2 separate regions of the Homo sapiens genome follow, and region 1 is linked to region 2. The links are contacts of gene promoters, found by promoter capture Hi-C in human tissues and cell types (Jung and others, 2019). All regions are on one chromosome and are shown on one strand. Each heading gives the region's core, a stretch centred on a gene start or on the middle of the fragment in contact. The rest is flanking DNA. Distances are from core to core; before and after follow the strand shown.

What was found. Contacts are between HindIII fragments. The study calls those that stand out against the background at their distance.
Region 1: a fragment that was not itself captured here is called in contact with the fragment with the promoter of ADCY1 in region 2 in 2 of the 25 tissues and cell types used here (heart right ventricle and stomach).

Annotation. Positions count from the first base shown.
Region 1 is chr7:45,627,105-45,633,344 of GRCh38, reverse strand. All of the region lies in intron 4 of ADCY1 (adenylate cyclase 1), which reads right to left. Among named protein-coding and RNA genes, the nearest start is that of ADCY1, 56 kb to the right of the region's middle. The HindIII fragment of the contact is 3,478 bases long and covers 1,096-4,573 here.
Region 2 is chr7:45,569,248-45,576,364 of GRCh38, reverse strand. ADCY1 (adenylate cyclase 1) reads right to left here and starts at 1,997. Exons shown (of 20, transcript NM_021116.4): 1 at 1,183-1,997. The coding sequence starts at 1,821. RefSeq lists a silencer at 1,512-1,611 and an enhancer at 2,423-2,983. The HindIII fragment of the contact is 21,542 bases long and covers 1-7,117 here.

The sequences.
Region 1 (6,240 bases), core at 1,585-4,084, 56 kb before region 2:
TTTATTGAAAAAAATCCATGTATAAGTGGATCCACACAGTTCAAATCCGTGATGTTCAAGGGTCAACTGTATTTTGCTATACCAGTAATGAACAATCAGAAATTAAAAGTTAAAAATCAACAGCATTGGCCGGGTGCTGTGACTTACGCCTGTAATACCAGGACTTTGGAAGACCGAGGCAGGTGGATCACTTGAGGCCAGGAGTTCAAGACCAGCCTGGACAACATGGTGAAACCTCGTCTCTACCAAAAATACAAAAATTAGCCAGGCATGGTGGTGTGTGCCTGTAATCTCAGTTACTCCAGAGGCTGAGGTAGGAGAATCACTTGAACCTGGGAGGCAGAGATTGCAGTGAGCCAAGATCACACCACTGCACTCCAGTCTAAGCAACAGAGCAAGACTCCGTCTAAAAAAGAAACAGCTAGGAGCTACTTAGGAATAAATCTGATAAAATATATAAAACACATATACATTGGCCGAGCATGGTGGTTCATGCCTGTAATCCCTGCAACTTTGCGAGGCCAAGGCGAGAGTATCTCTTGAGCTCAGGAGTTTGAGACCAGCCTGGGCAACATGGTGAGACCCTGTCTCTACAAAAAAAAAAAATTTAAAAATTAGCTGGGCATGGTGGCATGTGCCTGTCGTCCCAGCTACTCAGGAGGCTGAAGCAGAAGGATTGCTTGAGCCCAGGAGGTGGAGGCTGCAATGACCTGTGATCACACCACTACACTCCAGCCTGAGTAACAGAAAGAGACTCTGTGTCAAAAAAGAAAAAAGAAATACATATACACTGAAAACTATACATTTCTGAGAAATGTATAGAATTTTTTCTATACATTTTTTCTGAGAAAAAATTAAAGAATATCTAAATAAATCTAAATAAACATACAGTGTTCGTGAATCAGAAGACTATTTTTTAAATGTTAATCCTCCGAAGATTGGTAACATAGATTCAACACAAATCCCAAACAAAATTCCACCAGCCTTTGTTACAGAAACTGACAAATTGATTCTAAAATTCACATGGAAAAGCAAAGCACCTAGAATAGCCAAAAATCACTTTGAAAAAGAACAATAAACTTGGATAAAGCACAGGACCTGATTCCAGACTATACATTATAAAACTACAGGGCCAGGGTGTGTGGTTTTTGATGTCAAGATAAACACATAGGTTAATGGAACAGAATTTTTTAAAATCCAGAAATACATTCAACTACATATGGACAAGTGATTTTTCTAACATTTTGGAAAGGGAATTCAGTAGAGAAATGATAGTCTTTTCAGTAAATGATTCTGGGACAATTAGATATCAAGATAACAACAAAAAAAAATCCAGCTTTGACCCATACCTCGAAACATACACAAAAATTAACTCCAAATGTATTATAAACTTAAATGTAAAACCTCAAACTATAAAACCCCTAGAAGAAAACACAGGAGAAAATCTGACTTTGGTTAGGCAAAGATTTTTACTTTATTTTTTGTAGGTATATATTTATTTACTTTGCAACCTTACTCTGAGATGCAGAGATATGCAGGCTTGGCTTAGATAGCTGGCAAATGAAACAAATGATTGTGATTATTTGTGTATCTTTCTCATGTGAGTTTTCCTTAGGACAATGTGTATTTGTAAAGCTACAGAATTCACATGCGCACAAAAATTATGAATACACTATGTTGTGTTTTCACCTTATTAAACATTAATCTGATAATTGCATCTAATGCTTTGACTTTTTGTGGATGATGTTTGTTTTCAAGTTTGGATGCAGAGCTTATAAAATTGAGAATAAGTGAAATAGTACTCAATTTACTTGTGATATAGTATGTGCTCTGTAAAACAAGTATTTAAGGAAAACTTTTGTTCCCCTGCTGGATTGTGAGGCAGACTAAGTCACAGATTGTATTCTCCTTACATATGCCCGTACCAGTGATTAGCAGTTTCCTGCACAGAGCAGAATGAGAGGACATTTGCAGAGTTAAAATGGAATCCGGTTGCATTATAATGCTAATAAGGACAACGTTATTTGACAATTCTCTAAAACAGACAAAGCTGATAAATGGACAATTTCTAGCATCAAATGTTATCTGGTTATCTAAGAACTTGATGGGATTTTTAAAATGAGTTTATCATATCTTTATGTTAGAGGGTCTCAATGATTTTCAAGTTGGATTTTCAAATACCTGCATAGTTTTAACAACACTGACCCCACTGATCACAGCTTTCCTGGTAACAATGATAATTACCATATATTGAGTGTAAACCTTGTCCTAGGCACTGTGCTAGATGCTTTAGACCTTTTATTATTTTACTTTCCATTATTTTACTTCTCACTAACCAACCAAAATAGTCATATTTAGTCTTATTTTTGAATAAGGAGACTGAAATCCAGAGAGATTTTGGATGGCTGCTCTCAGTGTGTGGTAGGCTGAAATTCCATGCCTCCCGAGACCCCCAGAGATACCCACAGTCAAATTTCTGGAATCTGTAAATGCAAACTTACATGGCAAAGCACAAAACAAAGCAAACAAAAACAAAGATCTTTCTAATGTAATAAATTAAGGATCTTAAAATAGGGAAACCATCTTGGATTATCCAGATAAGCCCTGAATACAATGACCTGTATCCTTATAAAAATGAGGCAGGAGGAAATTTTACACACATACAGAAAAAGGGAAAGAGAGAGGGAGGGAGGGGGAAAAGGCAGAGAGTGAGAGAAAACAGAAGAATGAAGAGGAACACACAGCAATATGAAGACAGAGGGAGACTGGCCCACAAGCCAAGGAATTCCAACAGCCAACAGAAGATGTAAGAGTTAAGGGACAAATTCTCCCTTGGAACCTTCTGGATGGAGTATCGTTCTGCAAATATCTGGATTTTGGCCAAGCAATACTGATTTCAGAATCCGGGCCTCCAAAACTGCTCTCAAAGAAGTTTCTGTTGTTTCAAGCCACCAAGTTTGTGGTACTTCACCACAGTAGCCTTGGGAAACCAACACACAGTTATAGCACTTTGGGCAAAGACTTTTTAAATACAACACAAAAGTTACAATGCATTAAAAAAACTGATAAACTGGACTTCATAAACACTAAAACTTTCTGCTCTTCAAACAACACTGTTAAGAGAATAAACAAACAAGCCAAAGTCTCAGGGATCATATATTTGATGGAGGACTTATATGTAGAACATACAAAGAATGCTCAAAACTTCACAAAAAGAAAAAAGTCAACCCAAATAAAAAGAAGTGGTCAAAAGGTTTCAACAGACACTTCACCAAAAAGATAAATGAGTGGCCAATAAGCAATGAAAAGATGCTCAACCACATTAGCTATTAAAAAATAGGAAATTAAAACCACAATAAAATAGCACCACATGCCTATTAGAAAAAAACTAAAATTAAAAAGACTGACCACATCAAGTGCTGATGAGGATGCGGAGCAACTGGAACTCACACACTGCTGATGGGAATGTGAAATGCTACAATAACTCTGAAAACATTGTGTCTGTTTCATAAAAAGTTAAGCATACGGCCGGGCGCGGTGGCTCACGCCTGTAATCCCAGCACTTTGGGAGGCCGAGGCGGGTGGATCATGAGGTCAGGAGATCAAGACCATCCTGGCTAACAAGGTGAAACCCCGTCTCTACTAAAAATACAAAAAAATTAGCCGGGCGCAGTGGCGGGCGCCTGTAGTCCCAGCTACTAGGGAGGCTAAGGCAGGAGAATGGCGTGAACCCGGGAAGCGGAGCTTGCAGTGAGCCGAGATTGCGCCACTGCAGTCCGCAGTCCGGCCTGGGCGACAGAGCGAGACTCCGTCTCAAAAAAAAAAAAAAAAAAAAGTTAAGCATACATCTGCCATGTTTTTTAGCCATTCTACTTCTAGGTATTTACCCAAGAGAACTGAATACCCATACATAGACTTGTACATGAATGTTCATAGCAGCTTTATTTGTAATAACCAACACCTAGAAATAACCAAATGTCCATCAAAAAGTGAATAAACAGACAAGCTTCAGTACAGCTACAAAATGGGATGATTCTAAGCAATGAAAAGGAATGAAGTACTGACACATGCAACAAGTTGGTTGAATCTCAAAACAATTACACTCAGTGAAAAAAAGCCAGACAATGTAGAGTACATATTGCTTTGTTCCATATATATAAGGTTCTAGAAAATTCCAACTTATTTGTAGTGATAGAAAGCAAATTAGTAGTTGCCTGGACACAGGGAGAGAGTAAAATGAGAAGTGGGAGGAGACAGGGATTGCGAAGGGTCTAGGAAACACTGGAAGATATGCTCAGCATCTTGACTGTGGTGATGGCTTCACACGTGTACATATGCCCAAATGAACAGAACCGTACACATATGCAGCTCATTATCAGTCAATCATACCTTCAAAGTAAGGAGCCCTCTGTGCCACCTAGGACAGTGGGAAGCTGAGGAAAGGTTTGAAACAGGAAGAAGAGCTCCTCATGCTCACCCCATGAGGAGCTGCTGCAGAAATCCCGGTGAGGTGTAACATATCCCAGAGGTACTGAACCACAGAACTCACACGCATTATCGGAAGGCAGGCACTAGTTAGGCCACACGTGGTGCAGTTTGTTGGAAGAAAGAAGCATGCCAGGTTGCAGAAGACAGAGTATTATGTAAACCTTTCCTAGGAAAATTGACAGATTCCCTTTGTATTCAAAAAGTCATCCACACATATTCGAGAACTCTTCTTAATAATTTTCCTAAAGACACCAAAACACAGCCCATGGGATGTCCTGCCTTGGGGAAGGGCAGGGGTGCCTCCTCATATACTCCCCATGTTCCCCTTCCTCCAGAAACCGCTCACCCTCCACCCCTGATAGAGTCTGGGCAGGTCACTCTGCAAGGATCCCAGGACAGGGAAACACTTTCCCTGCTGTGTGAAGAAAGATGTGTTTCCATTCTGTCCATTACAAACTGTGCAGGGGTCTGGAGGGGCTAGAGCATGGGCAGGAGCATGGAGATGGATGGCGGAAACCGAGGTCTTCAGGCAGGGAAAGCGAGAGGCTCACTTGGCTGGAAGGTTGGGGTGTGAGGAAAACCCATGGGGTCAGAGTGGAGAATGCCAAGAGACCCACCTCTGAGGCCTAGTGGCCTGTATACGAGCACAAGCTTTAGAGAGTGGCTCTCAGCCTCTGGCCTGCAAAATCCAGGGCAGTTAGCAAAATGCAGATTCCTTATCCCTAAGACTCTGATGAGTGGTTCTGGATCTGGCCTAAGAATCCACCTTAAGGTGTCCCAGGTGACATGACAATTGCTTCTCAATCATGTGCTGAGAAATAGCAAAGAACCTCCCCACCAGGAGCCTGCCAGGGGCAGCCTCATGCTCAGCCATGGCTGTGCATATGCGAAGTGGGCGCCGGGGGTCTTGGGGAGCTTGGTATCCTCCCTCCAACCCCACAGGACACTCACTACCACCTGGTGACAGCCAGTCAGACTTGTGCTTGCTCTGCAGATGCATCTCCCCACGAGTGGATTCTGGAGCCTGTTTACAGCTATGGGGAGGGTAAGAAGTGGCCCCTGCTCTTCAGAGCCATCATGCACAGATAGTTGAGCCCTAAGGAAACCCAAAGCCAGCTGTCCCAGGTACTGACCCTGCTCCCAGCCCAACTCAGCTTCCCCAAATGAGGCTCCTGCTGGCCAAAAAGTGCCTGTTGTAGGCCACCCCAGCCCCTCCTCTGGCCATTCTCATATGTGGGCGCCATCAGAGGTCCCCCAGCTTCAGGTAACAGGCCAAGGAGTCTAGAATCCATCGGAGAGGACACACTGGCATGGCACTGTCCCACTTAAACAGGCGGGGATAGCCATTGTGTGCCAGGCTCCATGGTCAGCGCTGGGACTCAGTGCCAACTCAGACATGTGTATGGGCTGTCCACAGGCCAACCCCTCCCTGGAAAACAGCCACACACACAGTGATGAATGAGTAGGGTTAGCTGGACAGGATGCACCCGTTCCACAGAAGGCTGGTGAAAGGTCAGAGGCCCAGTGGGCAGAGACCTAGAGAAAAGATGGCCTTTGGGGCTTTCAAGGATGAGTAGGAGTTCTCTTCTAGGGAGACAGGCTTCGGAGCCATAATGACACCGCTTCCAATCCTGGCTGTGGCTCTGGGGATGTTGTTTTACCACATGAGCCTCATTCTGCTCACTCTTAGAATGAAGATGACATCATGTGCTGGCCAGGATGTTACAAAGACTTCTGTGAGGTCAACAACTT
Region 2 (7,117 bases), core at 748-3,247:
CATCTCATGGCTCCTCTGACTGTGTGCTGCCCCTGGCATCACAGTCTAAGGATGCCTCCTTAGATCCTTGGGTGCTGGTCCCCCGGGGCCGGGCTGTGGGACTCCTTACCACCGCCCCCCAGTTATTCTTCCCTAATCTCTCTGGATTCAGCTTCCCCTCCGACCCCTTACCTCTCCCCAGTTTGCTCCCACCACTGCTTCCTTTCGTGAGATGGGCTCCCCCACTCCATTTGAGTCATACCATCCCCCTGCTAAACTGCAGCTAGAGGCAGAAACAAAACCCTCCTCAGGGTCTTCCAAATCTCCCCACCCCCCAACTCCCCAGCCCCATCCCTGCGGCCCGTTGGAGATGGGCACAAGGGGAAGCTCTCAAAGCCCCGCCGTGGGGCAAAGACCTCTGGTCCACGTCCACCTCCGGGCAGTTGGAAGAGCAGGCTCCTCCAGGGCCCAGGAAGAGTCCGCGGGAGGCAGACAGCGTCCCCGTCCTTGCAACCATCTCGCCCGCCCGACTGGGAAGACAGTGACAAAGTTCGGGCGCAGAAAAGGCAGGGTCAGGGCAACCGCCGAGTGGCAGCGGCAGGGACTAGACTGTGTTTGACCTTGGCAAACCCCACTCTTTCTGGGCCGGAGGCATGTCCACAGAAGGGTGGCCAGCAAGGCTGGAAGAGCCGAAGTCCTTTCCCACCACCCATATACCACCCTCGGGTCCGCAGGGTTGGGAGGCGAGCCCAGCACGCGCTCTAGGTGCGCAGGGGAAGAGCCCAGCGCTGCGCGCAGAGCCGGCCTTGGAGCTTGCCCTGGGGGTCTGCTCTCCTCGCCCACTTTCAGTCCCTCTGTGGGGATGGGTGCGGCAAAAGACCGGCGGACCCCTCTGGCCGCCGTCTGGCCGCTCATCAGCTCCCTGACCTTGGCCAAACCTTTCTCTCTCCACACCTGTCTCCCCTCTCCACACTTCACGCCAGGGGCGCTTCGTGGATTGTAACTCTGAAGAGAGCCCTGGCCGGAGGGTGCCAGCCCCGACTGCGTCCCCAACTCGTAGGAGTGACCTTGAACACACCCCCACTCGGAGCCTCAGTGTCCCCACCCGCCGCATAGGAAAAAGCGCGCCCGACTCCGGGCATTCCCAGCATCGTCCCAGCAAGTGTGTCCGAGACCAGATGAGGGGTGCGCGGCTGCACTTACCGTCCTCCAGAGACGTGGGCGCTTGGCGGGGACCAAGGTGGCTGTGACCAGCAAGTGCGACGCAGCCACCACGAGCCCAAAGCCTATGGCCAGCAGGCTGCGCACGGGCAGCAAGGCATAGGACACGAAGGTGACCAAAAGGAGCTGCCAAACCCCTTGTTCGGCGGTCGCTGGCCCCCCAGCGGCCCCGGCGGAACCCCGGGCGGGGCCGCCCAGCGCGAAAGGACAGCAGAGCAGCGCGAAGGTGAGGCTGAAGAGCAGCGCCAGCTGGCCGACCTGCTGCAGCTGGGGCACCTGCAGGGACCGGACGTTGGTTACCACGAGCAGCGCCAGGAAGAGGACGCAGTGCACCGGGTGTGAGCCCTTGGCCAGGCCGGGCGCGGGCCCCGGCGCGCCCAGCAGCTCGGCCAGCGCCAGCGCGCCCGCCAGCAGGCTGAGAACGGCCAGCGCCTTCAGCGTGGCCGCCTGCTCCAGCCGCAGCGTGTAGCCGCGGAACAGCGCCTCCAGCTCTGGGCAAGCGAACTCCTCGTCGCACGCCCGGAGCCCGCGCCGGCGGCTTGTCCCGGCCGCCCGCTCGGCGCCCCCGGGCTCGCCCGCGCCGCCTCCGCCGCCGCCTCCGCCGCGCGGCGCCCCCGCCATCTCAGCGCCATGCAGCGGCCGCGGCCGCGGGCGCGCCCCTCGCCGGCCCGGGGCGCCGGGGCGCGGGCGGCGGCGCCGGGGCGGGCGGGCGGCGGGCGGCGAGGCGCCGGGGCGCGGGGCGCGGGGCGGGCGGAGTTGGGGCGCCGGCTGCCCCGCGCGCGCGCCCGGAGCGCGTCCCCTCCCGCCCGCCGCGCCTGCGCACTGGAGCCCGCCCGCGCCCCGACCGTGGTCCTCGGCGGCGACCGCGCTGCGACAGCCGAGCCCCGGGAGCCGCGAACCTGGGCGCGCACAGCCCGCGCCCCAACTCCGCGTCCTGCGTTCCCGCCCGCCGGAGGAGCCGCGTGACCTCGAGTACCTTCCTTGTCCCCTCCGAGCCTCAGTTTCCCCACCGTGCACAGTGGAACCCACCCTCTTGGCGTCACCTGGGGAGTCGAAAATACTGAAATCCTGCGAAATTCCCTGTTGCGGGGCAGTTAATCTTGGAAAATATGTGCCTTCCCCCACTCAATAAAACCAGGCCACTAGATTTGAGAGGGGCCCGCGTCTGACTGCGAACCCAGGGCCCTCGCCCCTACGAGACGGAGAATCGACGTCCAAGAATCCCCGGGGTCAGGAGGAAGGTGGAGGCCTGGGGCGTACGTCCCTTCCATGCGCATGAGGGACCCCCCGCCCCTCGGCAATTCTTCCCTAAGCTCTAGGGTCGCGGAGACCCTGTGGGCGGGTGCGGGCTGCGGGAGCTGTGCTGGGGAGGCGGCGGTGGTGAAGTCCAAGAAACAAAGTCCTGGGAGTCGGCCCGAGGGATTCCTCCTGGGTACTGAACTGAACCAGGATGGGCTCCTGGCAGTGCTGTGTCCCGGGAAGAAGGTGTGAGGCTGTAGGTGCAGAAATGGGGCAAGAGATGAAAGGAAAAGGGGCGCTGCTGTTTGCCTTAACGATTAGCTGGATACCCGAGAGAGAGCGAAACGTTTTCTTCTAGCAGGACAATTGGGAGGGAAGGACGCTGGCCCATGGGGGTTAAAACCCGCGAGTCGAATTCCACTGCTTACATTCATTCACTATGAGGGAGACAACTTTGTGCTGGTGCTTCAAGTACATGATGTCATTTGGTGCTCAGACGGCCCCTGGGCTGCCTGCATCCCCCTTACAGTGAGGATCTCTCATGATCAGCTCCCTCCAGGAGGCCTAGAGAGGAGTAGCCACTGCAAGAACCCCTGCCTCCTCCGTTATCCCGGCTGCTTCTCGTCCCCTCAATATGGATAGACCAGGAACTGGGATCCCATGAAATAATGGAGACCAGGAGGCTAGGCCCCCTGCAGAAGGCCCCACTCCCAGAAACCAGGATTTAAGGGATCTCGCCCAGGCATTGGTCTATTTTAGAAATGCCCCAGGGATTCCATTAACTCTCAGGGATTCCACGTGTTGTTATACGGAACAAAGGTTAGAATTTGAGGCATTTCCATTTTATCTGGAATTGGTATCAGGTTGAACCATACAAAATTGCCGTTTTTGTAAAAGGGCCAAAGTTGTCACATGTCAGCTCTTTCATATGCTTCAACTTAATAGTTGCAGATGATGACACCTCTAGGCTTTGTCTAGAGTAGGGGCACTTTCCCATCCCATGTCCCCAGTAGCTCACACCAAAGGCCCCCAGCAGACACTTGATGACAGCTGGTCCCTCCTCCTGGAATAGCATCCCCAACAGAACATCCTTTCTGAAACCTTTCTGGCTCCTTCTGGCACAGCTCGTTGCTTTCTCCCCAGTCCCAGTCTTCCGTGAAAATTCATACCCACCACTCTGTAGCCTCATTTTCTGTTCATTTGCCTTCCTCCCCTCTTTGAGCTGAAGCCCTCAGAGGGCAGCACTGGCTCTGAAAAGATGGCATGGCCCAACCTCTGTCACTGACTTGAGAAAGCACCTTCTTCTATCCACTAGTCCCCTGCTTATCCCCAAATAGGAGCAAAGTCTGCAAGATTTTTCTTTTCAAGTGTTAAGATTGAAGTGAAGATTTTCTTGTTAACTGGTGTGGTATATTTTTGGATCCTAACAATTTATTAAAGAAAAGCTGAATAATATCCAAAAAGGATCAAACTACATGAAAATGAAAAAGTATGATAAAGTTAATCTGGGTGCAAAGTTTACAAATAAATGGCACCTTCTTTTACCTGTTTTGGCTCTCAACTTTGTCCTCACTCAAAAAATGACATTCAGACAGGTGCAGTGGCTCATGCCTGTAATCTCCGCACTTTGGGAGGCCAAGGCAGGGGGATCACTTGAGTCCAGGAACATGAGAGCAGCCTGAGCAACATAAGGAAGCCTCATCTCAACAAAAATTTAAAAATTAGCTGAAAGTGATGGTACATATCTTTAGTCCCAGCGGCAAATGAGTTTTAAGGGAGGCTAAAGTGGGAGGATTACTTGAGCCCAGGAGTTTGAGGCTGCAGTGAACCATGATCTTACACTCCAGCCTGGGTGACTTCTCTTTTAATAAGAGTCTGTCTCTTTAAGAAAAAAAAGAAAATCATTGGCAAGATTGGCAGCAACTGCTTTCAAACGAGGTTATAAGGATTCAGATTAGGCTTTGGACGGAAAGAGGTTCAGTCATAGGTGCAGTACCCTTTGCTTACTGTCACACATGCTTGTCCTAATATGAAGTCCTAATAAAGTATCCAGGGATACATGGTGTGGTGTGGTTTACATGTCATTCTCATGTCTGTAGTTCTCATTGATGCTCCATGGCATCTTGGAAGGCAGATTTTATCACCCTCATTTTGTTGATGAAGAAGCAGAGACCTAGACATGCTCTGGAGCTGGCCCCAAGGCACAGAGAGGACCAGATTCTGGTGGGAATCTGGGGGTCCTCCAACTCGTGTTGTTAAACCCTGGGAGGGGTAAGAATTGAAAATTGTTATTGTCAGTGGTGTGGACTTGAGCTGTGAATATGTTAATACTGTCTCCACATTTCCCAGGTTGGAAGAAGAAGGCCTTCAGATGGGCAGTTTGCACCAGGCATAACAGGGAAATTATCTGAGATACGACAAAGTGATTGCAAGATGTCCTCTTAGTGGGTGTCAAAAGTTGAATTGTGGTCCCCTCTGCCCACCATTTATATGCTGAAGTCCTAATCCCTGCCTCATAATGTGGCCTTATCTGGAAATAAGGTCATTGCCGATGTAATTAGTTAAGATGAGGCTATATTGGAGTAGTGTGGGCCTCTCCTCCAATATGACTGGTGTCTTATAAAAAATGTGGACACACAGACACACAGGGAGAACGCCAAGTGAAAATTGGATTGATGCTGCCACAAGCCAAGGAACTACCAGAAGCCAGGAGAGATGGTCCCCTGGAACCTTCAGAGCAACCAGCCCTGCCGACACTTTGATCTCGGACTTCCAGCCTCCAGAACTTCAAGACCATAAATGTCTGTTGTGTAAACCCACCCAGTCTGCAGTGGGTTTGTATGGTAGCCCAAGCCAAAAAATACACCTAACATATAGTCTACCCTGGCTAAGGTTTCGTGTTGCACTGGGTAAATAAAGAACAACAGCCAAGGGCGGGGGAGGGGGGTGCTGTGAGGCCCACAATGAGCGATTCTGCTCTTCGGGGGAGCACCTGCCTCCTTCATCAGAGGCCAGCAAATAGCAGGGCACCATCATCCGCGACATTGTCTCTGCACATCTGGGAGAATGGGCATGCAATTACTTCCATATAGCCACAGATACACTTCTTCTCAATAAAAACAAACTCGTTGGATAATTTGAGCCTGCTTGTTCACATGGTGGGGGCTCTAGTTCTTTCCCTCTCTCTCCCAATATGGGAGGCCGGTGCCTTATTCAAGACATGACTGCAATGCTTCTTTTTTTTTTACCTTTTTTTTTTTAGATTCAGGGGGGTGCACGTGCAGGTTTGTTACATGGGTATATTTCATGATGCTGAGGTTTGGGGTACAGATCCTATCTCCCAAGTAATAAGCATAGTGCCCAATAGGTAGTTTTCCAGTCTATGTCCCCCTCCCTCCCTGTCTAGCAGTCCTCAGTGTCTATGGTTCTCATCCTTTTGTCCATGTATATTCAATGTTTAGCTCCCACCTATAAGTAAGAACATGTGGTATTTGGTTTTCTGTGCAGTGCTTCTTGCTACAATAACACCACTGGGTGTGGCTTTTCACCATTTACAAATCTCTCTAGTCTACCTTTGCATTGGAGCCCCATAACTGTTGAAGGTCCTGGTCTTTGTAGAAACTAAATGAATTGCCCAGATCATGGGGGTGGTGCAGGGTGGGCCCATCCTGGAGCCTCAGCCCATCTGACCCAGTTCATAGCCACCACAGGGGAAACTACATGATATCATGGCTAAAAGAGTGTGGACCCCTGAGGTGGGTTGTTGGGCTAACATGTCAACACCACCCCTCCCAGCTGTGACTTTTAGCAAGTTACTCAACCTCTCTGTGCTTCTCCTCTTCTGTAGTTTGGGAACTTAGCACCTGGCCCCCAGGGTTATGGTCGGAAGAGAGGCCCGCATGCACACAGAGCCTACACTTTATACACACAAAGTATAAAGCAGAGCAACCAGCCCTGTCAACAATTTTTCCTCTAACAATTCAGTGTTCTGGGTAGACAGAAGTGGGTGAGTGCCATTCAAACTCTTAGAGCAAAATATATCCATTTAGGCATCTGGACAGCAGCCATGACAGCCAGGGAAGCCAGCTAACCAGCTTCTGTCCTGGGAGAGCTCATTGATTTCCACTGACTTTGGTCAGACGTTTGGCTTCCAGATGAGTGTGTATCGTACTCCACTCATGCTTTGTCTTTTGGGACAAATTTCCCTTGTGAATTTGTAAAAGAGAGAGCAGCCTCTATATAGTCGATTGACTCTGAGCCACTTGTGGAAATGAGGCTGTTTAGGAAAGAGGTTGCTGATTTGTGTCTATAGGATAGTCAGTAAAGTTAATTTTGTCACAGCAATTTCTAGGTAATCAAATGATTCACACAACAGGCTCAAAACAGTGAAACACTGGAAACCAGCTGACATCAGTGGGGCTCAGCCCAGACAGATCAGACCCTAAGATGCAGCCTCCTCCCCAACTCTCCCCTTCATAGGGGCAGCTCCCAACTCCTGACTTCATCTGATGCAAGACACAGTGTGGGACCCAGCCCCCCTGAGTATTTCCTCTTGGAGCATGTGGGGACAAATGAAGGGGTCTTTAATTCCCTTGCAGATGGCAACTAGAAACCATGGCATGTATATCTGTTTAGGACTCTTCCAGTCAAAAAGTGACAGAAAACCCCAACGCAAACT